Regions from separate parts of the Homo sapiens genome. Here all the other regions are linked to region 2. Evidence: promoter capture Hi-C in 16 types of primary human blood cells and fetal thymus (Javierre and others, 2016). All regions are on one chromosome and are shown on one strand. Each heading gives the region's core, a stretch centred on a gene start or on the middle of the fragment in contact. The rest is flanking DNA. Distances are from core to core; before and after follow the strand shown.

The links. The method cuts DNA at HindIII sites, captures the fragments that hold promoters and counts their contacts. A CHiCAGO score of 5 or more calls a contact.
Region 1: a fragment that was not itself captured here is called in contact with the fragment with the promoter of SLC38A1 in region 2 in 1 of 17 cell types (naive CD8 T cells); the score reaches 5.7 in naive CD8 T cells.
Region 3: a fragment that was not itself captured here is called in contact with the fragment with the promoter of SLC38A1 in region 2 in 1 of 17 cell types (M0 macrophages); the score reaches 5.3 in M0 macrophages.
Region 4: a fragment that was not itself captured here is called in contact with the fragment with the promoter of SLC38A1 in region 2 in 1 of 17 cell types (fetal thymus); the score reaches 5.4 in fetal thymus.
Region 5: a contact is called between a fragment that was not itself captured here and the fragment with the promoter of SLC38A1 in region 2, in 1 of 17 cell types (total CD8 T cells). The highest score is 5.1, in total CD8 T cells.
Region 6: a fragment that was not itself captured here is called in contact with the fragment with the promoter of SLC38A1 in region 2 in 2 of 17 cell types (M1 macrophages and endothelial precursors); the score reaches 6.3 in M1 macrophages.
Region 7: a contact is called between a fragment that was not itself captured here and the fragment with the promoter of SLC38A1 in region 2, in 5 of 17 cell types (endothelial precursors, megakaryocytes, naive B cells and 2 more). The highest score is 8.4, in endothelial precursors.

Annotation. Positions count from the first base shown.
Region 1 is chr12:47,210,995-47,214,790 of GRCh38, reverse strand. The region is part of intron 2 of PCED1B (PC-esterase domain containing 1B); the gene reads right to left. All of the region lies in intron 2 of PCED1B-AS1 (PCED1B antisense RNA 1), which reads left to right. Among named protein-coding and RNA genes, the nearest start is that of PCED1B-AS1, 3.6 kb to the left of the region's middle. The HindIII fragment of the contact is 8,343 bases long and covers 1-3,796 here.
Region 2 is chr12:46,266,360-46,270,292 of GRCh38, reverse strand. SLC38A1 (solute carrier family 38 member 1) reads left to right here and starts at 1,250. Exons shown (of 17, transcript NM_030674.4): 1 at 1,250-1,767. LOC105378248 (a long non-coding RNA gene) reads right to left here and starts at 1,222. Exons shown (of 2, transcript XR_001749101.1): 1 at 1,135-1,222. RefSeq lists silencers at 701-800, 881-1,060 and enhancers at 1,471-1,570, 1,621-1,670, 810-1,792, 1,791-1,850, 2,776-3,759. The HindIII fragment of the contact is 4,151 bases long and covers 1-3,603 here.
Region 3 is chr12:46,928,577-46,932,110 of GRCh38, reverse strand. No RefSeq gene overlaps it. Among named protein-coding and RNA genes, the nearest start is that of SLC38A4, 100 kb to the right of the region's middle. The HindIII fragment of the contact is 9,619 bases long and covers 1-3,534 here.
Region 4 is chr12:46,810,958-46,814,768 of GRCh38, reverse strand. All of the region lies in intron 1 of SLC38A4 (solute carrier family 38 member 4), which reads left to right. Among named protein-coding and RNA genes, the nearest start is that of SLC38A4, 13 kb to the left of the region's middle. The HindIII fragment of the contact is 3,257 bases long and covers 1-2,940 here.
Region 5 is chr12:47,193,503-47,197,152 of GRCh38, reverse strand. The region is part of intron 2 of PCED1B (PC-esterase domain containing 1B); the gene reads right to left. Among named protein-coding and RNA genes, the nearest start is that of MIR4698, 7.5 kb to the right of the region's middle. The HindIII fragment of the contact is 1,782 bases long and covers 754-2,535 here.
Region 6 is chr12:46,948,405-46,952,235 of GRCh38, reverse strand. It overlaps LOC124902924 (a long non-coding RNA gene), which reads right to left. Exons shown (of 2, transcript XR_007063285.1): 2 at 3,008-3,831. Among named protein-coding and RNA genes, the nearest start is that of SLC38A4, 120 kb to the right of the region's middle. The HindIII fragment of the contact is 6,570 bases long and covers 1-3,831 here.
Region 7 is chr12:47,022,147-47,026,028 of GRCh38, reverse strand. No RefSeq gene overlaps it. Among named protein-coding and RNA genes, the nearest start is that of PCED1B, 56 kb to the left of the region's middle. The HindIII fragment of the contact is 1,022 bases long and covers 1,679-2,700 here.

The sequences.
Region 1 (3,796 bases), core at 1,297-3,796, 940 kb before region 2:
TTTATATTTATAAAAGAAATCTACATTAGTCAAAGTATCTGTATCAGGAAGAGTCCTGCTCTCAGACAACTTTTATTACCTGGGGGATTCCAGTGTGTGTGCATATAATTAAAAATGTTTTTTCCTTTTCTTTTCTTTTTTTTTGAATTGAGATTTGGTCTCAATATGTTGCCCAGGCTGGTCTTGAACTCGTGGGCTCAAGTGATCCTCCCACCTCAGCTTCCCAAAGTGCTGGGATCACAGGCATGAGCCACCGAGCCTGGCCAAAAATGTTTTTTTCTCCTGTTAATCTGTTTTATGTCAATTTAATTTGTATCCCAGCCAAAGAACCTAGAAGTAGGGAGGAAGCCATTTTCCCTCCCTTACAGCACAAAATAACTAACCAACAAGAGTAAGAGGTTTCACAACAGTCCTGAATTACATGCTCTGAAGACTTAGCTTTTTTTAATAGTATGCTATTTATGTAAACTGGATTATAATGTGACATAATTGTCTTTCCTTGAAAAATATCATTTTACTTTACATCACTGTCTATTCAGTGTGTGGCTTAAAATTAATTCCATACCTTATGCATTGTTTTCATCCTCTATGGCCATCAATAAAGTTATCTTGCAGTTCCCCATGAGTTTTAGTACAGTCATTACCGGGAAATTTAATAGAATCAAGGCAGAACCCAACTGATAGCTTTAGTATTTTATAATCCAGAGTAGTCTATTACATAACTTTGAAAAATCTGCCATTATTTAGTTCTAGCAATTCTATAAATGAATTGCAAATCTTTCTAGTTCTGTAGATTTCAGCTAGTCTGTGCACTGTGAGAATAAAAGGACAATCTCTGTAATCATCCCAAGACCAGAGAACAGAAGAGCTGTAATAATGCAAATGATAATCACACTTATACTCTTTAAACTTAAAATAAAGTTGAGATCAACAGATTTTCAACTGATTTTCTTGCTTTCAAGAACTTATTATGCTCTATGTAGACAGCTACTATTGCTATTCTGGCCCTATCTCATGTTTCAAAGCTCAGTGAGCCATCTTTTATTTTTTACCCACCAAACTTGGCTTTTTCTTAAACAGTAATGACAACTTATGCACATATAATGTTTTACCCTGTGAATGTGCTTTCACACACAGATATCCTTTACTATTAGCAGCTCATTAGTAGTTATAGCCACAGAGAAATTTAAACTTTGCTTTATGCAAGCCATTACCATTTTATCCACATTTTCTATCTTAAGGAACGCAATTATTTTTCTTATCTTCTTGGGAATCCTATAAGAGGGCCAGAAATCAGCCCATTAAATATATACATATATATACATTAATTTCAGCTGGCTCGTGTGTGTATGTGTTTAAATCTATTCCTGGGCTGCCTTAAACGAATGGGCCAAATTTGGCAAATCACAAAACTATGTTTTTTTCTTTGGTTGTCTGACTTAAACAGTCCACATATTTTTGATAATTTCTCTTCAAAGCACTCACAATTAGTACTTTCAAGCACATATGAATAATGAATAATTTGTTTCTATTAGGGTACGAAATCTTCTCTGATAACATATTAGGAACTTTGAGATTCTGGATTAAAACTTCTCATGAGTTCGATTTAGTAACAGAACTAAATTTTGCACGAAGTATGTGCAAACTTTGTGTTGATGAACAAGGCAATACTTATTGGGATTTGGGATGTTACAGATTGAGAAAAGCCAAATCAGTGATTTCACTATTCAGGATGGATGGAATGAGAAATGTGAATTTATAAAAGATCCCATTCTGTCAGGATTTCTTAAACATTTCCACAAAATTCTTAGAATTCTTATGTTTTATGCAAGTTCTGTATTCTGTTCCAATGCAGCCTAGTGGTTCAGAACATGGCCTTTGCAGGCAGAAAAGCCTGAGTTCAGAGTCCCAAATTAATAATCCACAAGCTGTGTGACTTTGGGAAAGGTACTCAACTCCTCTGGCCCACTTCCAGTTGTGAAGTTTAAACCTGCAAAGTGCTAAGCAGACTGCTTGGTACTTAGTAAATGCTCATTTTTGTTCCAGGGATTAGTATACATGCATCCATGCTTTAGTAATGCAAAATAATTCTTTAAATGACTAACCACTGGAAAAAAACGTAAATACTGACAAGTACCTTGTTTGATGGGCACTGTTCCATGGGCTGGTATGACACCATCACTGCAGGAATAGACTGCGCAAGTGGAGGGGAGATGACAGAAATCATCGTTAGGTCAAGTTGAAGCTCGGGGAGATTGAGCAACTGTCTGAATCACACAGGTTAACTACTGAGCTTGGACTAAAGACCAGGCTTCCTGGGTCCTGGACTCATAGTTCCAGAGCTATAGTTCATGAATTTTTTTCTCTAAGGCTGTAAGCTCTTTTTACAGAGAATAATTTAATGCCCTGCAAGAACTGGGTCTTACATTATTTAGCAATGTCCCTTACCTTTAAACCACAGGCTTAGTTTTCCAATTCCGGTCCTCTCTCCTTTTTTCTTTTTGTTTTTTGAGACAGAGTCTCTTGCTCTGTCACCTATGCTGGAGTGCAGTGGCATGATCTCAGCTCACTGAAACCTCCACCTCCGGGCTCAAGTGATCCTCACACCTCAGTCTCCCACCTACCCCCAGTAGCTGGGACCACAGGAGTGAGCCACCATGCCCTGCTAGTTTTTTGTATTTTTGGTAGAGATTGGGTTTTTTTTTTTTTTTTTTTTGAGACGGAGTCTCGCTCTGTCTCCCAGGCTGGAGTACAGTGGCACGATCTCGGCTCACTGCAAGCTCCGCCTCCCGGGTTCACGCCATTCTCCTGCCTCAGCCTCCCAAGTAGCTGGGACTACAGGCGCCCGCCACTACGCCCGGCTAATTTTTTGTATTTTTAGTAGAGACGGGGTTTCACCGTTTTAGCCGGGATGGTCTCGATCTCCTGACCTCGTGATCCGCCCGCCTCGGCCTCCCAAAGTGCTGGGATTACAGGCGTGAGCCACCGTGCCCAGCCGAGAGATTGGGTTTTACCTTGTTGCCCAGGCTGGCTTTGAACTTCTGGGCTCAAGTGATCCACCCGCCTCAGCCTCCCAAAGTGCTGGAATTACAGGCCTGAGCCACTGCGCCCAGTTTTTTTTTTTTTTTTTTTTTTTTGAGACAGAGTCTCACTCTGTTGCCCATAGTAGAGTGCAGTGGTGCGATCTTGGCTCATTGCAACCTCTGCCTCCCAGGTTCAAGCAGTTCTCCTGCCTCAGCCTCCTGAGTAGCTGGGATTATAGCCATGTGCCACTACACCTGGCTCCTTTTTTTTTTTTTAAAGTAGAGTTGGGGTTTCACCATGTTGGCCAGGCTGGTCTTGAACTCCTGGCCTCAAGTGATCCACATGCCTCAGCCTCCCAAAGTGCTGGGATTACAGGCGTGAGTCACCGCACCTGGCCATAAGGTTGTTTTGTCAAGGAAGATAGAAACAGCTTAATATTTTTGGATGTGTGCTGTTCTTCCTTTCTTACTTTATTAGATAAACATCCATCGAGTGCTCCTTCGGTCAGGCACAGTGCTTAGCACCTGAGATATGAGGTTGAGTAGGATATGGTCTTCTCTATGTTCTGTAGCTCACAGTGCAGGGAGGGAAAAACACAGAAGCAGATAACTAGAATTCAATGTTGGGAGTGCATTTATGGCTTTATGTTAGAGTATCACTTCTATTACTGAAAAGGGATTTTTAAAATTCTACTGAAAACATGAAAATGAAAATAGCGCCATGAAAAGTAGCTTCTAGTCATATTCTTTTATGATGAATATTTGCTTTGCAT
Region 2 (3,933 bases), core at 1-2,500:
TATCATCTTGCTTTTCCAGTGGTGATGAAAAAGCAAAATTCACCCAAATACAATGACTACTGTCTACTTGAAACGCTCCAGGTAGTTAATTTTTGAATTATGATTCACCTTCCCTTTCCTGTTTTGATGAACCATGAACAGGAGACTGAACCTTCCCTATCAATAAAAAGCTCGCGTTTCCACCCTGCAAATTCGCGCTATGACAGTCTAATTGGCTGAGGCGCAGGTGGGATTTCCTGTCGCCATTTTAAGACACAACTCCTCTGCAAGCAAGTGCCCAGCCAGTGAAAGGGGGCTGTGTCTGAAACAAAGAGTAAGCGGGAAAAAAGGGAACCAGGCCCAGTTGCCCCTGCTCCCCTCCATGCCGCTCCCTCGTCCCCCGGACTTGGAGCGCCCCAGCTCCGTTAACCTGGACGCACCAGGTCCTTCGGTCGGGACCACGTGGGGTCTCCAGGCCCTCCAAGAGCTGGCCCCCGGCTCTTTGCGCCTAGGCCGGTGCTTTCTCGGTGCTCAGCAAATCCTTCTGGTTCACCTCACACCCAGTCCCCAAAGCAGAGCTCCACAGGGCAGATCTCAGGAAGGGCTGACCAGGTCTGCGGGTGCTGGATCCGGAAGAGGGGAGGTGCCTCCCGCTTCAGGTTAGGGACAAAGGGTTTTTAAAGGTGCCCGAGCTCCCCGCCGCCCCTGCCACTTCGGTCCCCTTCCCGCCAACCCGGGCCATCTGCAGGCTGTGCCCAGGGCCAGCCCTCCGCTCCAACGCTGCCCGTAGTCCCAGGCGCTGCCCGCGGCTCTCCGGGCTGCGCTCGGACCTGCCACTCCCGCGGCCATCCTCATGCTGCGCCCTTCCCACAATGCAACTCCCTCGCTCCTTCGGCCCCGGCGGGGCTCTGGCGTACCCAAAATGCAGGCCCCAGCGGAACGCACAGCCCTCCTGTCCTCCGCCGGTGCCCCTTTAGCCGCCCCACCCCCATCCCTAAGGGCTCTCATTCTCCAGCTGCAGCCGCAGCTGGGTTCCGAACACGCCGCCGGGCCCCGGGAGGGAGAGGGGCAGGTGCCAGGGCGGCGCGCAGCCTCTGCTCCCGGTGCCAGCTTCAGTGCGCCGGGCACACGCGCGCCCCGCAACCCCTCCCTCACCCTTTCCCCGTTGCTCAATCTCCGCCAGCCGCGGTCGCTGCATCGTCAGAGAGCTGCAAGAGGGAGGCAGCAAGGTGCGGCCGCCAGCAGTGACACCATGTGACCGGCACGGCTCACTGACACGCAGCTTTGGTTAAAGAGCGGGCGCACAGGAGGGGAGGAGACCGCGCGCGGGACGGGGAGGAATGGCCTGTCCGCGTTAAACCATCACAAGCCATGGTTGCGGAAGGGCCACGCGTCCCCCAGTAGGAGAATGACTCCGATTCGTGACCCTCAGCGCCGGTGCATGTCGATGTAAGTGCGAGGCCGGCGAGCAGAGTGTGAGTGGGGGTTGGTGGTGAGGGGAGATTCTGATGCAATCGGCCCGGAAAGGAGGAGAGCCAGGCGAGCGCGGACTGGGGCGGCCACGCCACTCCGCCAGAAGGTCGCCAGGAGCCTCCGCCCTTCACCTTCCTCCGAAATCCGCCAGGCCACGCCAAGCTCCCTGCCCAACCCTTACTGACGGGGGCCACATTTTCCCGGCCTCCGCAGCCAGACCTTGACACAAAGGACATCAAACTGCCGAGGGTAAAAACCCCGGAAGGGCGGACACCTCCACATCGCCTTTTGCCACCTTTCCCTTTATTTCCGGAGGTAAGGTGATTATCCGTTCCCGGGGAGGGCTGGGCGAGCGGCAAGGGGAGATTTAGATGTCGGAGGAGGAGGTAACGTAGAAATCATCTCTGCGGGCGTGAAAGCAGAGAGAGCTCGGCTGTGCCCGATGCTTTCGGATGTTGCTTTTAGGAGAGGAAAAGTCCAGGTCTCCTGTGCTTCCCGAACGCACGCGGCAGCGGGAGGAAGCGCCAGGGCCCCCGAGTTCACCTTTGCGTGGGCTGTGGCTTACTTTTTGGTTTGTTTTCCTGTGACTTTGGTGTGTTTTCCTGTGGCTGTGGCAGAGTGTGGTACCAGATCTGGTTCCATTTTTACGAGAGCCAGGAACCACGCACGTCTGGAGGGAGAGCGCAGCTGACCCGAGGGCGCGACCGTGTTCTGGGAGTGTTTGAATCCCCGGCCTTTGGTGAAAATTTCCTGTGTCCGCAAGGCCCAGAGGAGATCGTGTGATGTCCGGGGGGTGCTGCGTGCGGCCGGCTGGGTAGCGGCCGCGGACCACCACTAAACCGGGGCATGTTTGCCGTCCTTCCTGGTGCTCTGCCCCTCTGTAACGCGGGGAAGTAGGAGGGCGCGGGGAGAAATTACTAAAGGATGCTTGCAGTGACTCACTGTCCTTTCCTGCCCTGAAGAGGATTTTCTAAAATGCAGAGGGTGGCAGGGGACAGAGGTAGTGTTTTTTCGAGAGCCGGGATGTGCTGGAGCCAGCGAACAAAAGGCCACCTCTTGCGCGGTCTTGGGCGCAGACTGCTCTCGCTTCCAGTCCCACCTCCTCCCCAACCCCCGGCACCTAGTTCGCGTCCCTAAACGTTGCCGCAGAGGCCTTTAAACGCGTGGGTCGGTGCCGGGAGGAGAGCGCATCTTCGCCCTTGTGCGAGCCCCTTGCCCCCTAAATTATCCACCTCCTGGCGCATGGGGCTCCCCAGCACCCACTGGGACCCAGTAGGTTACCCGGCTGCCTGGGCACCGTTTGCCTGCCAAATCGCCCGCCTGAGGTTTGTGCTGAACTGTAGTTAGAGAAGGCACAAGTGCATATGGCAGCAAAAGGAATTTCGCGGTACCCGCGTCACGCCGCTCCCAGTGCCTTTCACAGGCTGCCTTGGGCTGGGGAAGGTGGTGCTACAATTCAGAGTCCTTTGTCTTGCTCTGCGGCGCGGACCCGGGGTTTGTACAAACCCTCGTTCTCTGTTAGAAACCTAACTGCCGCCAGGATCACGTACTTTCTCGGACGAATCCGCGGTGATGTGTGTAGCAAAAGTGAAAAAAGACGCCTCTGCTAGAAAACGGTATTTATTTGCGTTTGGAAGGGGTTTTGACCTCTCTGCAGTGGGTTTTTACATTTTTCAATATAAGGGGGAGGAGGAAAATAAATTTATGGTTTGCAGAATGCAGGGCCCAGCGAGGGTGTAATTTGTCACCTTGATAAAAGAAACTGTGCAGCAACTCGTGCTTTTTCTGACGTCAGAAGGACAACGGAAATAAAACCTGAGCTCGGTGCATGGCTGGCCTCGTTGTCAAATGTCTCATGCCAATTTGGTACTCCCGAAATCTTGCAAAACAGCCAATTCCGGGGTACTGACCTGGTGTGGACCCCCTGGATTTTGGTTCGACCCCAGCCTCAAAATGGCCTTTCTCTTGAGAGTCACTCGATTTCTCAGTATGTCGCTGTAAGCAATTGGAAACTGGAATAGTTTGGTTTGAGGTCTTAATCTTGAGGTTTATTCGCTTTTTAAAAAAATGTGGCCAATAAACATTTTCTACAGAGGGCTTACTGTGCGACTGGCAGCAACTAACAAGATTTGTTTCACCTTCTATGAAGCTTCCGTTCTCAGGGGGAAATAGACTATATAAATGTAGGCATATACATTTCAGGTATTCTTAGTGCAATGAAGAAATAAAACAGGATCATGTGATGGGGGAGGATGCTTGAAATAGAGTGACTCACCGGGAGGGGCGGTGTGAGGGTATAACATTTGTCCTCAGACCCGAATGATGAAAAGGGATCAGCTATTTCCATAATTGAGGGAAGAAGGCCAGCGGAAGGAACAGGAAGAAGGAACAGCAAGTACTTATTGCACTCTTCTTTGACTGTAATATAATTGAACAGATAGATGAATAGATTTTAAAGGTGTTTTGGAGCTTTAAACCTAT
Region 3 (3,534 bases), core at 677-3,176, 660 kb before region 2:
CATTTTGAGTTCATTTTTGTGAGGGTGCAAGATCTGGGTGTAGATTCATTTTTATGCATGTGAACATCCAGTTGTGCCAGCATCATTTGTTGAAAAGACTCTTTGCTCCATTGTATTGCCTTTGCTCTTTTGTCAAAGATTAGCTGACTATATTTATGTCGGCATATCTCTGGGCTCTCTATTCTGTTTCTCTGATGTATTTGCATATTCTTTCACCAGCACCACACTGCCTTGATTGCTATAGCTTCATGGTAATTTCTGACATTGCATAGCATCAGTCCTCTAACTTTGTTTTTCTCCTTCAATATTGTGTTGACTATTCTAGATCTCCAAAAAAATAGAATCTTTTTTATCAATAGTTACAAAATAACATGCTGAAACTTTGGAATTGCATTGTGTCTATAGATCAAGTTGGAAAGAACTGCCATTTTGACAATATTGAATTTTCCCATCAAAGAACAGTAATACCTCTCCGTTTATTTAGTTCTTTCATTTCTTTCATCAATGTTCTCTTCATATAAATCTTGGACATATTCAGTTAGATTTATATCTAAGTATTTAATTTTGGAGCTGTTAATGTAAATAGTATTATGTTTTTTCTTTCTTTTTTCTTTTTTTTTTTTTTGAGATGGAGTCTTGCTCTGTCACCCAGGCTGGAGTGCAGTGGCGTGATCTCGGCTCACTGCAAGCTCTGCCTCCCGGTTTCACGCCATTCTCCTCCCTCAGCCTCCAGAGTAGCTGGGACTACAGGTGCCCGCCACCACGCCCGGCCAATTTTTTTTGCATTTTTAGTAGAGACGGGGTTTCACTGCATTAGCCAGGATGGTTTCGATCTCCTGACCTCGTGATCTGCCCACCTCAGCCTCCCGAAGTGCTGGGATTACAGGCGTGAGCCACCATGCCTGGCCAATAGTATTATGTTTTCTTTCTCTCTTTCTTTCAAGACAGAGTCTCATTTTGTTGTCAGGCTAGAGTGCAGTGGTGCAATCACAGCTCCCTGCAGCCTCAACCATCCAGGCTCAAGCTATCCTCCCACCCCAGCCTCCCAACTAGCTGGAACCACAGACATGTGCCAACACATCCAGCTAATTTTTGCATTTTTTTGTAGAGATGGTGTTTTGCCATGTTGCCAAGGGCTGCTCCTGGAGTTGTGCACAGTGAACCTCCAGTAATTTGTCTGTTACAACTTAGGTTTTCCTGCCTCAGTACTGGTTCTGGAGGTGGTTTCTGCCTTGGTAAGTTGTGATTTTATGTATTAATCTGTCTGTTTCTTTAGTTGTTGGTGCAGGTATTTGCCGTGGGACATCACTTCTCCGATGGACCAAGAAGACACATGTAAAAATTGTTCATTTTTCTGTTTGTTCTGCTTCTTACTTGTCAAGATGAGTGATGATGTCCAAGCTCCTTACATGCAGGACCAAAAACTAGAAGTCCTAATTATTATTTTAAAGCATTCACCTTTCCCTCATTTCAAGTCTGTATTGTTGAGAACTATTTACTTTGAGAGGTATTCTCACAATACCAAGTTCTTTAGCTCCTTTATTTTATAGAGTATTTATTAGCGATAGAAGGCTAACAGTCCATTAATGTTGAAAGTGGTCTTAGAAACCATCCAGTCCAATCCATATTTTTAAGGTGAAAATGAGGTTCAGAAAAACTAAGCGACTTGATCAAGGTCATTGAAAGCTAAATTTGGTCAGTCTTGTGCTTTTTCCCACCACATTCCACATCTCTCAATTTTAAATTGCTTAATTTGCAGATCTCTGTAGTAGGAATGAGTGTTTACATAGTCTGCTGTTGTAAGTGGAAGTTTGGCTTAATTTCCAAAAACATCTGATTAAAAACAGTTTTGTATGGTGAGGTCTACTGTTTGATTACTCATTGTGCCTCCACCTCAGTTTTGTAGTGATATCAATCCTGCCTCCCTCAAGTTACAGAGGATGGTGACCCCATTCTCTAGGCAGATTCTGTTCAGTCTAAGCCCAGGCTGGAAACCCTGTTTTCTTTCCAGTGCTTAGCTTAGGAATAAACATGTGACCTAATTTGGGACATTGGGACATAAGAGAAAATCTACTGAGGGGCTTCTGGAAGAGGTTTCTTTGTTCCTAGGAGATAAAAACAATAAAAGATTGTTTCCTGGATGTTGCCACATCTGGATGTGAGGCCTAGAGCTCCTGCAGCTGATTTGGGACTATAAGTGGAGCTAGCTGGAGGGCAAATGGCGAACAGTAAAGAAGATGGATGGGGAGATGGGAACAACCCAGATCTTGAGGACATTGCTAAGCTGCTAGACTTCCTTCACCTTAGATGTTAAATTACCTTATTGTTTGAACCAGTTTAACTTGCCATTTTATGTTACAGCCAGCCAAAGTTAGCCTAACAGAAACAGCTATCAAATGCATATTATCTTATTTCCAAGTTTACTTTAAACATATACTTTGCTTAAATTTAATATAAACCTAATACCTAAACATAGTGTCTGGCCCATAATAGTAATATTTTCCGAGGAATCTAAGTACTGTCTAATTTCTATGCCTACAAATTATGACCATAGTTCTCTGTTCTTCAAGGTCCAGATGTTACAATGTGATGACCTACTCTCCCATATAGGCCTGCCAATTTGGGATTGTTTAGTATATTTTTAAAATCTGAACTAAATGACTTTAATCGACAAGTTCTCCTTACAGTTTGCTGTCATCTTGTGATCTACTGCTTTACTTTACACATTTATGTTACTTGCTGGACCCTTGAGGTATCTGTATTTAAGACCCTGTTAAACTGCTCTGTGCAGAGATAAAAAAAAAATCTCCAACCTCAATGCCCTTTACTCCAACTAGTTTCAAACATTATAGGTAGCTCAGAAATTCTGTATCTCCAGACACTAGGGTTTGTATAGGCCAGTGCTTCTCAATCCTGGCTGCAAATAAGAATCAGCTGGGGAGAATTTGAAGTCCTGATGTCCAGGCACCATCCCAAAGGAAGTAAGTTAGAATCTCTGGGAATGGTACTTAAAAAAATTTTTTAAATACTTTTAATTTTGAAATAATATGAAACTCACAAAAAAGTTACAAAAAATATCAAGAATTTCTGTATACAATTCATCCAGATTCTTCTTTCTATCTTTATCATGTTCTTTGTCTCTGTGTGTGTGTTTGTCTCTCTCTCTCCCTGTGTCTCTCTAGAATACTTTTCTCTATACACACATATTGTTTTCTGAAACATTTGAGAGTAAGTTGAAGACATGACACTACTTCTAAATATTGTATTGGGCATTTCAGTGTATATTTCCTAAAGCAGGGGTCCTCAACCCTCCTGCCACAGACCTGTACCCAGTCCGTGGCTTGTTGGGAACTGGGCTGCACAGCAGAAGGTGAGTGGTGGGTGAGCGAGCATGACTGCCTGAGCTCCGCCTCCTGTCAGATCAGCAGCAGCATTACAGTCTCATGAGTGTGAACCCTATTGTGAACTGCACATGTGAGGGATCTAGGTTGAACGCTCCTTATGAAAATCTAATTCCTGATGACATGAGGTGGA
Region 4 (3,811 bases), core at 63-2,562, 540 kb before region 2:
GTTTGATCAAGAAACTGCCTCAAAGAGAGCCAGTCATCCATTCTTGCTGCCAGCTAATCCATGCACTGATTCATAATGATTAAAAACGTCTTATATTTGATTCTACTGAATGTGATTAGACCAAAACTGTGTGGCTGTTTTGGCAATTAGTACTAAAATGCTCAGCAACATCAAATGGTACAGTGTGAGTGAAATGTAGGTCACTTACTTTAGCATTTGGAAAGTGTGTCGTGGTACATCTTTGGGTCTTCATGTTTTATCAATCTCACAAAAAAGATTAACCCAAAGCAAAGCCAACCAACCCCCCAAATCTGCCAGTACACTTGCATGTTTAAACACTGGCGCTGATGACAGGTTCAGGGGTAAATATGTACCATGGGGCTGTTCAGCTTCACAGGTTGGTTAATATTAAACAAACACATATTGCAAACTGTGCCTTGTTATGAGGTTGTTTTCTGAGATTCCAGGGGTCAGGGTCAAATCCTCACATTTTTCACCTTTTCCCCAGTGCCAACCAATAGTATAACAAGTGAAATAATAGTCTAATACACAGTAACAATACACTTTCAAAGCAAAAAGTGTTGAAGCTAATTTAATTCTATAATCTATTTTGCTAATGTCATTTCACTTTTATAAAAAAGAACAATAGAAATACCTTGTATGTTTATAATGCTGTATATCCAATACATCATTTAACCCTCACAATAACCTTGTCTAAGTTTTCATTAGACCCAGTATTAAAGAGAAAACTGAGTTCCGGAATATTTGCATGACTTTACTTATTCAAAAAAGACTTATTAAATCGGTATCATATTAGGTATTGAAGTCAGAGACAATTCTTTAAATATGCATGTATAACAAATGCTCACAAATGTTCACTATGTGCCAGATGCTCTTCTCAATGCTCTACAAATATTAACTTACTTAATCCTCATAACAGCACTGTGAGGTAGGCACTATTATTATCTCCTTCTTGTAGATGCGGAAACTGAGGCACAGAAATGGCAAATAACTTGCCCAAAGTCAGACAGGATAAAAGACAGAAGTCGGATTTAAGTCTAGGCAGTGGAGCTCCAGAATCTACTATTTGACTCTGTGCTGTGCTGAATAAGACACAGTATCTGTGTTTGAAGACTTCAGAGTCTAGAAGGGCAGGCATGTAAACAAATATGTTACAGTGCAACCCTTAAGCTCAACAGTGAGGCTTGCAAGAGGCACAGACAGCACGAAGGAGGAAGGGGTTAACTTGACTTATCTAAGGTCTCTCAGCTCCTAGGCAGCAGAGTGGGGATTGGATCCGAATCCTTGAGTTTGAACTCCAGAGTCAATGTGTTCTCCATTTCACTGGGCAGATCCATATTTGAGAAAAAGAGTTCGGATTTACAGCGAGAAAACAATAACGAACTTAGAGGAACATAGCATCTGAACACAGGATGAAAGCTGAGCTCATTTGAACAGAAAATAAAGGACTGTGCTTTGTAATAAATATAAATACAGACATAGATATAGGTATGCAGATCTCTTTGTTTATATAACATATAATTAATAAATTAATGTACATATGTATATGTCAACAGAACTCTTGTGAATATCAGTTCAGCTGTAACTCTCCCAGGTTATCTTAAGGCTTATGGTCAGTCAGAATAAAACAGGGCCAATGTGAGGAAGCAGAAGGAAAGCCAAAAGACATAGAGACACTGATGTCAACCATTCTGGGTGCATAATAGATATTCAAAGATTACTCACTGATGGAATAATTGGTTAATTGACTAATTGATTAAAAACAGGAAAGGGAATTAAAAAAATACTAAAGACAGCTCATTCCAATTCACATTTAGTGAAAATTTTGCTGAGGAGAATTAGTGAAATTGAAACATTCAGAATTGAGATTTCATATCGACATGTCAGAATTTTATGCCCAACATTTCTTTTGGATGACCACTTTGATATTTCTCTGACCCCTTTTTAAGTGTAATTACTACTTATTGACATTGTTAAGGTTTTTAATCCAAACAATGGCAAAAAAGAGTTCCACAGGGAGAAAGAAATTTGGCTAGTTTGAACTCCAGTCATGTTTATAGTTTATTTTAGGTTTGTAAAATTCCTTGCTTTAATTTACTAAAATAAAAGAATGTGTACATTTTTTCTGCTGCCACCAATAGTTCTATTGTCACCCTAGGAACTATATACTATTTTATAAATGAGAAAAAAGCTCATACAGTTTGCCAAGTTGTTGATAGCACAGCTAGTAATTTATGGAGTCAGAATTAGAACCCAGATCTTCTGAATCAAAGTCCAGCACTGAGTGTTAGCATAACAGAAGAGAACATGTTCAGACATTCAGATCAATAGGGTGTCAGAAGACTTCTCATGTAGATAAAAAGGGATGAACAGACAGTTTCAAGACAAAAACAGTGAAGCTCCTCTCAGGATTCCTCAGAAAAAGCTAATGCTAAAAGTCTTAAGCAAACATCAAAGGAAATGCCATCAGCCTTTAATTTAAAGAGAAAGAAAAGATGCAAGCAAAACTATTTAAGTCAATATGATTATCTTATTCACATGTAAAAATCAGATTACCCATCCAAATAAGCACATATCAGTCTTTCAACTGTTACTTGTAACACTATACTAGACCCTATTAAGAAATAATTAAGGAATATAAATGCTTGCAAATTAAGATATTAATTAATATTACTGGAAAATTGCTCATATATAATTAACTTAAGCATTGATCTTCACTTAGGTGGATTTTAAAATAATTAAGACAAGTTGAAATATGTTGAAATTCAGAGTCTAACTTAAAAAATCAACTTCAAATATCTAGGAAGGAAGAGTCAGGATTTCTATAGTTAAATATTCAACTCCTGTAAGACTTGCAATTAGCTTTTTTTTTGACATAGTTTACATCATTTGAAGCAAAATACTTCATGAACCTAAGCTTTTCTGTTCTTAGCCTAATACAATAATCCTGATGGTCCAAACACAAAGCAGAGGACCAGGTCCACATAAACACTCTCTCGAGGGATGCAATGTAAGAAGGATTGCCTCATGCTACCCAGGTGGTTTTTACTGTTTGCAGTAACCTTTATTATCACAATTTCTAACAAAACACATTTTCTTCATGTATCTGAAATCTCAAGCTCTATGTGGAACTGCTGAGCTGGACTTTTTTAATGAACTCATATGAATTAAACATAACAAAGAAAAGACATGGTATCCTCAGCCCTCTGTGATCCCTGCACTGACCTTTCCAGTGGTGTTTTCTATTCTTTCAGAAACACCCAGCTGCCAGTAACTGCTTCTTGCCTCCTTGCCTTTGCTTGTGCCATCTGCTCTGCCTGCAGTCTGCTCCCCATCGCATTTCTCCTGCCAACTTCTATTTGTTCTTTCAGATTTAGCCCAGCTGTTACTTCCTCCAGTAGCTTCTCTGCCCCTTTCAAGTTGAGTTGGGTGCCACACTTCTCCTGCCCCTCAGATGTCATGGGCATTTTGTGCATCCTGTTACATCATCATGACCTACATAAGCAATGAATTCACTTGAAAGACTAGGTCTTGAGAGGAGAGATTGGGTCTTTTATTTTTTAATTGTCTCTTTGCCTTAGCCCCTAGCATAAAATCTGGCACATGTAGGTGTTCAGTAATGTTTGTTGAATGAATGAGATGATTCTTTATTCTGCCATAATAGAAACTGATTATCTCACAACATTGTAAAAAATATTATATGCCCATTTTTCTCAACAATATTTTGAGATCTATTTAGAATATCTCTTGCAGATGGGGAAAAAACAATCATTTTTTTCCTATTCTTTCA
Region 5 (3,650 bases), core at 395-2,894, 930 kb before region 2:
ATTCTCCTGCCTCAACCTCCTGAGTAGCTGGGATTACAGGTGCCCGCCACCATGTCTGGCTAATTTTTATATTTTTAGTAGAGATGGGGTTTCACCATGTTGGTCAGGCTGGTCTATCATCTGTTTTTTTTTTTAAATAAACTGCCAATTTGTGTACTTTGCCTACTTTTCTATTTTATCTAAGGATTATTACATATTAAGTGTATTAACACTTTGGCCTGCCATCCATGCTGCAAATGTTTTCATTTCAGCTTATTATTTTTCTGTTAATTTTATGTTCATATTTTTTCATATATAAAGTTTATTTTTTATATATTTTTTAATTTTTAAGATGGAGTCTTGCTCTTTTGCCCAGGCTGGAGTGCAGTGGCACGATCTTGGCTCACTGCAACCTCCGTCTCCTGGGTTCAAGCAATTCTACCTCAAACTCCTGAGTAGCTGGGATTACAGGCGCCCGCCACCACGCCCAGATAATTTTTGCAATTTTAGTAGAGACGGGGTTTTACCGTGTTGGCCAGGCTGGTCTCGAACTCCTGGCCTCAGGTGATCTGCCTGCCTCGGCCTCCCAAAGTGCTGGGATTACAGGCGTGAGCCACGGTGCCCAGCCCATATATAAACTTTAGATGAAGTTTTTCAGTGTTTTTAAATTGTTTCTTCCTTTGCTACTGTGCTAAATAATACCTAAAACTTACTGAGCATTTACTGTATGTCAGGCAACATATAGTGATTTATATGTATTACTTAAGTTAAGCTTGAACAATCCTTGAGTTAGGTACTATTATCTCCATTTTATGGATCAGAAAACTGAGGCACAAATAGGTTGAGTATCTTGTTTCTGGTAGGCACATCTAGTAAGTGGCAGAGCCAGGATTTGAAGCTAGTTGCTCTAATGCCAGACACTTAGCTACTAAGTTCTACTGCCTCCTAGCAAAGCACTATTAAGTTGAAGTTGATATTATTTACCTACTTTTTTATGGTTACATATTTTTAAAAAGTTACACACATAAACACTCTACTTTAAAAATGTCAATATATTCAAATTTTGTAACATAGTGTTATATGTAATAGTCTTTGCAAAGTTAAAAGAATTCATTTATTTTGGAACTGAAATTAATGCATCACCTAGTTTGACTAATCTTTGGAAAATTGGGCTAATAGAATATTGGAAGGTGTGGGAAGAATTGTAATAGAGACCAGAAAACTAAGCAGTTTTTAAAAAATGTAATTATTAAGTTCAAGAAAAAAGCAAATGGTTAATAAAACATAACCATAGCCCGTATATTATAACATTAAGTTCTGACTGCTATCTGCATGGGCATAATAAAATGAATAATGAATATTTAACTATACATAAAATGTGAATAGAGGGTGAGGAAATGAAGAATGAAAAAAGTGGGAACAGACAACTCTGGTAGACTCAGGTATGATTTTCTTAGATCTTCCTGACTCACTTCAATATCTGATATTAAACTCTACTGGGGCTGCTGTGAGCAACCTTCTTGTTTCTGGCCCTTACTGTAGCATGTTACTTACAGGGGCTATACCTTCCTTAATACAACACCCATCCCTCCTCTACTCTACTATGGTGGGGTTTTTTTTTGGGTAGTTGCTGCCTCTAAGTGAATTTAGAAAGATAATCAGAGGAAGGAGGGTGGGTAGAGGGAAAATGAATAAATTTGTAGTCACCAGCTATCAGATAGGTTTGGATTGTACACATAATTAATATGGAGAAAAATTGTTTCATTTTCTCATGATCCTCATTTTCTCCCTCGAGACATTAGCTGTCACCTTCAGAAATATTTCTTTTTTTCTTTTTTTTTTTTTGAGACAGAGACTCGCTCCATCGCCCAGGCTGGAGTGCAGTGGCATGATCTCGGCTCACTGCAACCTCCGCCTTTTGGGTTTAAGTGATTCTCCTGTCTCAGCTTCCCGAGTAGCTGGGACTACAGGTGTGTACCACCATGCTCGGCTGATTTTTGTATTTTTAGAAGAGACGGAATTTCGCCTTGTTGGTCAGGCTGGTCTCGAACTCCTGACCTCATGATCCACCCGCCTCCGCCTCCCAAATGCTGGGATTATAGGCGTGAGCCACCGCGCCCGGCCTACTTTTAGAAATATTTCTAAAGATGAATTCCAAAAGACTAAAACAGGCTTTTCTTCCCCCCTCTCATACAAGAACACATTTCTTCATTTAACAAGTTAAATATATAATACTAATAAATAATTCACAATACTCAAAATGAAGATAATAACTTTAAAGAAGAGGAATTATGAAACAGGATAAGTGGCCAGTGCTGTTTCTGAACACAACAATGCCATTTACTCTCGAATTTAGCCACACGGCACCTTTCTCTTCCTCATTAAAACCCTGGCCACATATTGCTGCTTCTGCCATCTAAGGTCTGTTCTTTAAATAGCACATGGAACTCCGACCGGTATGACCTTTCTTGTTGGCAGGTCATCTGAGGATATTAACTGGAGTACTTTGTCCCACAGTTCCCAGAAGAGCAGGAGACCTCAATATTCTAAGAAGCTTCACTGTTGAAAGTCTAAGTAGTTTGCCAAAAATGATTGATTTTCTTTACACTAAGGAAATTTCTCTTGTGTTTGCAATAAGTAGCTATCAAAGGGACATTTGTGGTTCTAAATTAGTTCCAGTACCTGTAAAGAGACCCATCCCAGCAAGGTGCGGTGGCTCACGCCTGTAATCCCAGCACTTTGGAAGGCCTAGGCAGGTGGATCACGAGGTCAGGAGTTCGAGACCAGCCTGACCAACATGGTGAAAGCCCATCTCTATTAAAAATACAAAAATTAGCTGGGCGTGGTGCTGCGCGCCTGTAATCCCAGCTATTCAGGAGGCTGAGGCAGGAGAATCACTTGAACCCAGCAGGTGGAGGTTGCAGTGAGCTGAGATCGTGCCACTGCACTCCAGCCTGGGCGACAGAGTGAGACTCCATCTCAAAATAAAAAAAGACCTATTCCTGAGAGGAGGCAGGCAGTGGGGAGACAGATGTGTTTCAGGAGCATGGAGGGAAGTTATCTGAAAAATGCTGGCTGCAAAGGGCAAGCGGCCACTCCTGCAAGGAGGTCTCAACACAGTATGACCAAGGGCCCTGCAGGTGGCAGAGCACAGCAAAAGCACAGCAAGAGCATGTGGTATTTATTCAAAGCCAAGGGAGGTAGGCAGGAAACCAGAATGCAGCTTAGTGAGGGCAAGAGCAAGGCAGGGCCCCAGCCCCAGCAAGACTGAGCAATGAAATGGCTTTAAAATAACAACAATCTGCAGTTATCAAAACTGGGGCCAAAATGGCAGACACCCTGAAATAAACTGGTGAAATGCAATCTTAAAACAGATGAACAGCAAATGAGCTAGAATCTTGGAGACTATTTGGTTGCCTCATATGATTTATAGGACTGGAGCAATGTTGCTGATCCTTATACTGAAATTTATGTCACGGGGAGAAAATATAATTCTAACTTACTAGAGAACCATGATTGAAGCTACTCAGGGCTGAGTGGGCAGAAGTATATCTTTGTCTCTGAGGGAAATTGTAAGACTTGCTTGTAGTTTATAAAAGTCATCCATAATTTTTAATCTTTTGTTTTGGGGGTCAGCCAAAATCCTACACCCTAACTATTGTAATCCAGGC
Region 6 (3,831 bases), core at 669-3,168, 680 kb before region 2:
TAAATCTAATTTTGGAGTGTTTATTTTATTTTTGTTTTATTACTCTGTCACCCAGGCTGAGTGCAGTGGCACAATCTGAGCTCACTGAAGCCTCGAACCCTGGGGCTCATGCAATCTTCTTTTTATGGGCTCCCAAAGTGCTGGGATTACAGGCATGAGCCACTGCACCTGGTCAGTGTTTATTTTAAATTGTGTTATTTTTAACTACTCATTCTTTATTTTATTTTGTTTTTTTGAGATGCAGTCTCACTCTTTCACCCAGGCTGGAGTACAGTGGTACAATCTTGGCTCACTGCAACCTTCGCTTCTTGGGTTCAAGTGATTCTCCTACCTCAGCCTCCTGAGTAGTTCGGATTACAGGCATGTGTCACCACGCCCAGCTAATTTTTGTATTTTTAGTAGAGAAAGGGTTTCACCATGTTGGTCAGGCTGGTCTCGAACTCCTGACCTTGTGATCTGGCCGCCTCGGCCTCCCAAAGTGCTGGGATTACAGGTGTTAGCCACCACGCCCAGCCTCATTCTTTATTTTTAATACAGAAAGAAAACTCGTTACTGACTTAGAGTAAATGTGATATAGTAGCTTAAAAATAATTAATTTGGAGGCAATTGAGTAATTAATTTGGAGGATTGAGTGTTCTGCTGCTTATTAGTTACGTAAACTTTGGACCTGAATCTTTGCATTTCTGAGCCTCACTTTTCTAATCAGTAAAGTGGAGGTAAACAAAGAGCAGGATTATTGAGAAATGGCCACAGAATGGAGTGCAGGCCATTCTGAGATGATGGAAATTTTTGTTTGTTTTGCTTTTTTTGAGACAGTCTTGCTTTGTCACACAGGCTGGATTGCAGTGGTGCGACCTCAGCTCACTGCAACCTCCCCCTCCCAGATTCAAGGCATTCTCATGCCTCAGCCTCCTGAGTAGCTGGGATCACAGATGAGCACCACTACACCCAACTAATTTTTGTATTTTTAGTAGAGACGGGTTTTCACCATGTTGGCCAGGCTGTTCTCGAACTCCTGGCTTTATGTGATCCACCCACCTCAGCCTCCCAAAGTGCTGGGATTACAGGCATGAGCCACTGTGCCTGGCCGCATGACGGAAATTCTATAATTGGTGTCCTCCAATGCAATATCCACTGGCCACAGGTTGGCTGTTGAGCACTTGAAACATAGCAAGTGCAACTGAGGAACTGAATAAATTTTATTTAATTTTATTTAATGTATGTTTACATCTGAATAGCCACATGTGCTTGGTGGTTCCTGTATTGGACAGTGCAGGTATGTAGACAGCAGAGGGAGATGCAGAAGTGCAAGGAGAACTTAAGATGCCAAAGCCAGGAGGTACTGAAAAGAGAGAGAGAGAGAATGAATCCATCAGCCTGTGTCTGTTTCTGAGTTTTTGCTCATTTCTAATCCATGCTTACCCCTCGAAGATCCTCCTTTTTCTTGAAGTAACTTCAGTGCATCTTGTTCCTTCTCACAGAACTCATCTGAATGTTCACACTCAGAACTAGTGAGATTAGAGAAAGGATCAGAAGCCAGGTGTCCTGATATTCCTTAAAGCTCCTTCCAGTAATGTCATGCTCCTGTCTTTCTCTTTCCAAAGAGAACCTATGTGTACACACACACGCACACACACACACACACACACAATCATTTCTCTGAGACTTGTTCTGGCTTTGAAAATTTATGTAAAATTTTAATATCAATTTTATTTGCAAAAGCATGTTTTCAGGAAGTAGTCTGACTTGCCACAAATTTCTTTGGATGTAATTGTGTTGGACATTTTTTATCTTGTTTATTGCAAGAAACTTTTAATATGCTTGATAGCTTCAGTGTTATGTCCATCCTTTCCCTGCAGTGGCTGACTTCCTGCTGCACCAGTCCAGGCATTTTTGTGCCAGTTCCCATATGTTCATGTAGCCCCAAGGCAGATTTGCTGATATGCAGTGGGTTGAAAAAGAATACTTCTACGAGCGCAACATTGCATACCAAGGAGATTATCTTTTAGAAAGACTTAAAAGTCCAACAGATATGCCACAAAAGGTTAGATGACATTGATGGTTAGCAACTAGGAGTGGTAAGCACAGATATTAATGGACAGTACACAATCATTCATCTTGACTCTAGATTATACACCGAACTAAAAAATAAAAATGGATTGCTTTAATAATCCCTTTCTTTCTCATCTTCTCATTTAATGGGTTGGAGATGCTAAACCTTCTGTACTAACCCAATAATAGTTGGTAGAAATAATGGATATTTAAACTATGTTATCTGGCTCTGGGAAAGCCACTCCTAGAAAATGGGAAGAGGGGCTGGATGCGGTGGTTCATGCCTGTAATCCCAGCACTTTGGGAGGCTGAGGTGGGCAGATCACAAGGTCAGGAGTTCGACACCAGCCTGGCCAATATGGTGAAACCCTGTCTCTACTAAAAATACAAAAAAATTAGCTGGGCGTGGTGGTGCATGCTTGTAATCCCAGCTACTTGGGAGGCTGAGGCAGGAGAATTGCTTGAACCTGGGAGGCGGAGGTTGCAGTGAGCCAAGATTGTGCCACTGCACTCCAGCATGGGCCACAGAGTGAAATTCCATCTCAAAAAAAAAGAGGAAAAATGGGAAGAGGTTTATTTACTTCTAAATTTGACCAAAGAAATACCATTAATTAATTAATGGCTTAAAAGTGGTATAGAAACATGAACTCAGAAGACCTATCAATGCTTATTTCTCATTAAGATGCATTTCAGAATGCATCCTATTGTTCTTTGGGTGCTAATGAATCCATATTTAAAACATGCACACAAAAGCATCTCTCATGCTTCTGAGACAATTGCTGTAAAAATGCACCAGTTGATGGTTTGCTTAAATGGAGCAAATTGTCACCAAGTTGCACAGCCTTATTATCTGTACTGTCACTGCAGAAAATCTCACTGTGTATGTGACCTGAATGCTTATTACCTAGTGGAAAATTCCATAAATGCAGAATAGCCTACAGCACTCAACATCTGCCTTTATTTTTTTTTTTTTTATAATCAAACACAAGGGATTGCCAGGGAATAGCTCCCAAAACCATGGGGCCTCTTTACAATCCTCTGTCATTTTTGTCTATCTATATTAATTCTTAAACTGCATCCATTCAAATTGCCATGCTTCAGCCCTGAGGAATGTAAATAAGGAGGCAATTATGAAGATGTGTTTTCCGGTGCCACACATTTAAATGATTAGCTGAAAGTCAAATGTTAATGTCACAAAATAGAGAAATAAAATATATTCAAGGTATTTTGCCCATAGTTAATAGGCTAAACTAGAGCAAGCAATCTAACATTGCAAGGAAATTTGAATGTGGAGACTCAGTGTTCTTTTATTAGCTAAATGTACAGAACAGTAGATATATTTCATTTGCTTTAGCCTCCAGGCAGGATTGGAGGGATTGTGGGGGTAAAGGTGAAGGAAGAAAATGTGTGGAGATGGATTGTATGACAAAATGTAAGTGTACAGTTAGGCAGGGATGTGAGATGAGAAGACAATTCAGAGCACAGTCCTCAACCTAAAGTTGCCAAGTGCTCACAGACAGCAAGGAAATTCTTTATTTTGTAGAAATAAGCTATGAGCTCTCTTGAGCCCCTTCCTTCTCTGGGTCCCACCCCCTCCTTTAAGTTAATTTGAACAAACATTAACTATAAAGTTTGTAATGTCTTGAATCACCCCAATTTTTATTTCTCATGCATTATGAAGCTATTCTCTTGAGTAATTTCATAGAGTCATAAAGTCCAATATGAGTTGAATTGTGTGTCCTCCCAAAAATATGTTGAAATCCTAACCTATAATACCTC
Region 7 (3,882 bases), core at 940-3,439, 750 kb before region 2:
GCTGCTGGGGTTCAAATTTTGCAGGCTCTACCGCAGTGCCATGACTTTGGATGAGTTGCTTAGCTTATTTGTATCTCAGTTTTGTCATCTATAAAATGGGTGTAGTAACACAACACAGTGGATGATTGTGGAGATTATATAAAATAATAGGTGAAGAGCATTTAACTCTCTGCTTGCCATACAGTAAGTGCTCAGTATATATTTGTTATTTTTTCTATTGACTGATTAGACTTGGAGGTTGAGTGAGAGGACAGATCTAGGTTGGTTCACAGTTTTCTGGCTTGACAAAGTATAGGATCATTGAATGCTCGAATCTGCATTATTAATATTGAGTTGTCTCTCCAGACAGGATAGTCCATGTTGATAATCCAGCCACAGTTATATATCAACTCCAGTCCAAAAAAAATTCCCCAAGAGTAACTATTAATATGTTCCATTTCACTTTATTTGGGATTACTAAGATTGTTAAAAGAAGATGATAAAAGACGGAGACTGGGCACAGGGTGATGAAGAATGCAGAGACCTTCATTTGGTACTGGCAGTACATTCAAGCATCTTAAGTTTAAACTGGGAAGAATCTCAATCATTTCTTGGACCAGCTACCTAAAACTAATAGAAAAAAGGCAATGTTTGAAAACTAAATGGATTTTTGGCATTCAACAGCTAGAGAAAATGAGTTTGGGGGCTGAGGGTTTGGGGGAGGGAGGGCGGTATTTTATAAAGGTCACTGTCCCAAATGGAAGTCAAATGCTTCATCTTCTTTAACTGCAACAGAATACAGCTTTTTCAAAAAATGAATAACCAGTGAAGGATATCTTGGTTTTCTTTCTTACCCATTAGAGATAACTGATAAAAGTTAGGCAATAGAAGAGCTAGTTGGTAAAAATTCATATTAATTAATTTGTTGGTAAAATTATATATTCTTATAAATTATAATAAAGCCATAATGTAGAATTATAATTATATCAAAATTATAAGTTATTTTGTTGGTAAAAATTCATACTATTTTATGTCTCCTTGGTGGCTACTCTGACACATTTTCTTTAGTTTTTTTTACTAGATCTAAATGAATCAGAGGGCAAAGATCTACATTTATCTTGTCAATTTCCCCATATCCTAATTATATGATATAATTATTGTATTTTATAATTATTTTATGTGTACATAATATGTACTTAGCATATATATCATATAATTATTGGATATATTATATTTTTCTTGTATCTTTGTCTCAATGCTACAAAGAGAATAATAGTAAGGATAATAAATTACTTTCTAACATTAGCTCTGACCATCATACACTGTAACAGAGCTTTGGCCAATGCGTGGGCAGTGGCATGCTGGAGCTGGCTGTAGTAGCAGCTCAGAAGAGCTGATTGCGAGCATTTCTTTCCAACTCCTTTTTCAGTGACCTCAAGCTGGAAGCTTAAAATGAGACATAGTGGGAGTAGTTATACCATAAATACAGTACAAATCAGGGCTTTTCCTCCTAACAAACTAGTTTACCAGCACATCATTGATTAAATGTCAGAAATATATATATATAAAGATCTATTTTGTGTGGTATCAGGTGGCAGGAGAGAGGAAAAGGAGAGGTTTTGATTGCTGGAGAAGTGAAAGGGTCTTGAATTCAGCATCAATTCATAAAATTGGTTGAATCATAGAAATCTGCTAAGCTTCAACTATTTTTGTTTACAACATATCATATGGTTCAACCTAATACATGAGGCTGCAAGTAACAGAAACCCCTACAAACAATAGCTTATATAAATAAAACTTTTTGTCACATTGCAAGGAATCCAAAGGTAAGAAACGTCCTGATACAGCTATTCAATGAACTCAGCGATGCTGTCAGAGACCTATCATCCTGTTGCATCATCCTTAGAAAATTGACTTTTGTCCAGGTGAGATGGCTCACGCCTGTAATCCTGGCACTTTGGGAAGTGCAGGTGGGCAGATCGCCTGAGGTCAGGAGTTCGAGATCAGCCTGGCCAACATGGTGATACCCCGTCTCTATTAAAATTACAAAAATTAGCTGGGCATGGTGGTGCATGCCTGTAGTCCCAGCTACTAGGGAAGCTAAGACATGAGAATCCCTTGAACCGGGGATGTGGTTGCAGTGAGCCGAGATCATGCCACTGTATTCCAGCCTGGGCCACAGGATGAGACTCCGTCTCAAAAAATAAAAGTTGACTTTTGTCCTCAGGCTTGTCATCTTATGGTCACAAATGTCTGCTGTGCCTCCAGGGACTATGTCTTCATTGCAGGCAGAAGAGAAGAGAAAGGCAAAGGCTGTCTTCTGTAAGTTTATCAATGTTAATCAGAAAGACAAAAGTTCTTTTCTATGTTATCTGTGTTAATCAGAAAGACAAGCCCTGGAGGCTCATTCAAAAACTTCTGCTTTCATCTCATTGACCAAAATTTGTCACTTCATTCCCAGACAAAGTTACAAGATTACTAAGATTACTAAGGCTGGTTTAGACCAATCATAATTTATCCCTGGCCCTGGGATGAATCACGATTGGTTTAAACCCATCCATAAATACTCGACAGAGGGAAAGATCTCAGCAGCCACCTGAACGAACTTAAGGTTCCATTGGCTTGGGGAGGGAGGGGTGGATATAGGAAGAACAACAAAGGAGATCTATCACAATGCCCTTGAATTATGAATCCAGGAATCTAGAAACAAAGTAACAAGCTTTCCCATTTCTTGGTTTAGCTATGTAAAAGTAGTTCTATGTGTGTGTGTGTGTGTGTGTGTGTGTGTGTGTGTGTGTGTATCAGTGGTTGTTAAGCATTGTATTTAATTAGCATGCAGCTCAAAAAGTAGTTTGGCAAAATTTATATATTATATGATCACAGCATTAAAATTTATTCTTGAAGTCTCAGTCTTTACACTTTAATCTTTACGTGGCACAGTGGTCTGTTTACAACTTTTAAAAAAGATTGAGAGGGCCTTAAAGTAACATCACTGATCTAGCACGTTGGCCTAATAGATTGTTGGGAGAAGATAATGATATAAGATAAGGTATGTTATAATATAAAAATTTCTGAATAAAGAGCCTAATGCTAGCCATTTTAAGGAAAGCAGAAGGAGTAAATATACTCTTCTGCAGTGGTGATGGCATCATTTAAAAACTCTCACAAGTTATTTACCTACCTTGACATTGCAGGATCATGTTATCCAAGTGATTTGTAGTCTTGCCTCTGGAATAATGGCAGATCAACCAGTATAAAACCCTGGGTAATATACTAGTCTGAGTTAACTGTTTATACTTCGCTTTCCTGTTGATTTACCTATGGCAAATAAGACAATGCATGTCAGTTCTGCTCTTGGCTAGACTTTGTAGAGTAGTAGGTACAATGCATGTTTTCCTGACATGGTTATAAAGTATTTTTTGTCACATTTATAAGCACGGCTTCAAAATTGGACACACTTAGGTTTTATCCAGAAGCTGCCCTTTACTGTCAATGTGGCTTAAAATAAGTTATTCAATGACTCAGCCTGGTTTCTTCCTTTATAAAATGAAACTTTATCAGGTTGTGTGAGGACTAAGTAAGAAAAGTATGTAAAGTATTTAAATCACGTGGCACATACTAAGAACTCAATTAAATGGAGGTGGTTTTTGTTTCTGTTTTCCTGTGTTTGCTTTAAAGAAAATTTTTCTGAAATGATTGCATTAGTGATAACTGCTCCTTTAATAATAATAAATAAAATAGATGTTTAAAAATAATAACAGAATAATAACTGTTATTTCCAAGGGCAAACAAACAATAACTAATTCTTACACTTCTTTTCAATACTATCTGTATATGTTTGGAGAATATGATTTTACTTTTTTGTCCTTCTGTCTTCAACAGCAAAACCATTCAGTCCCTCAT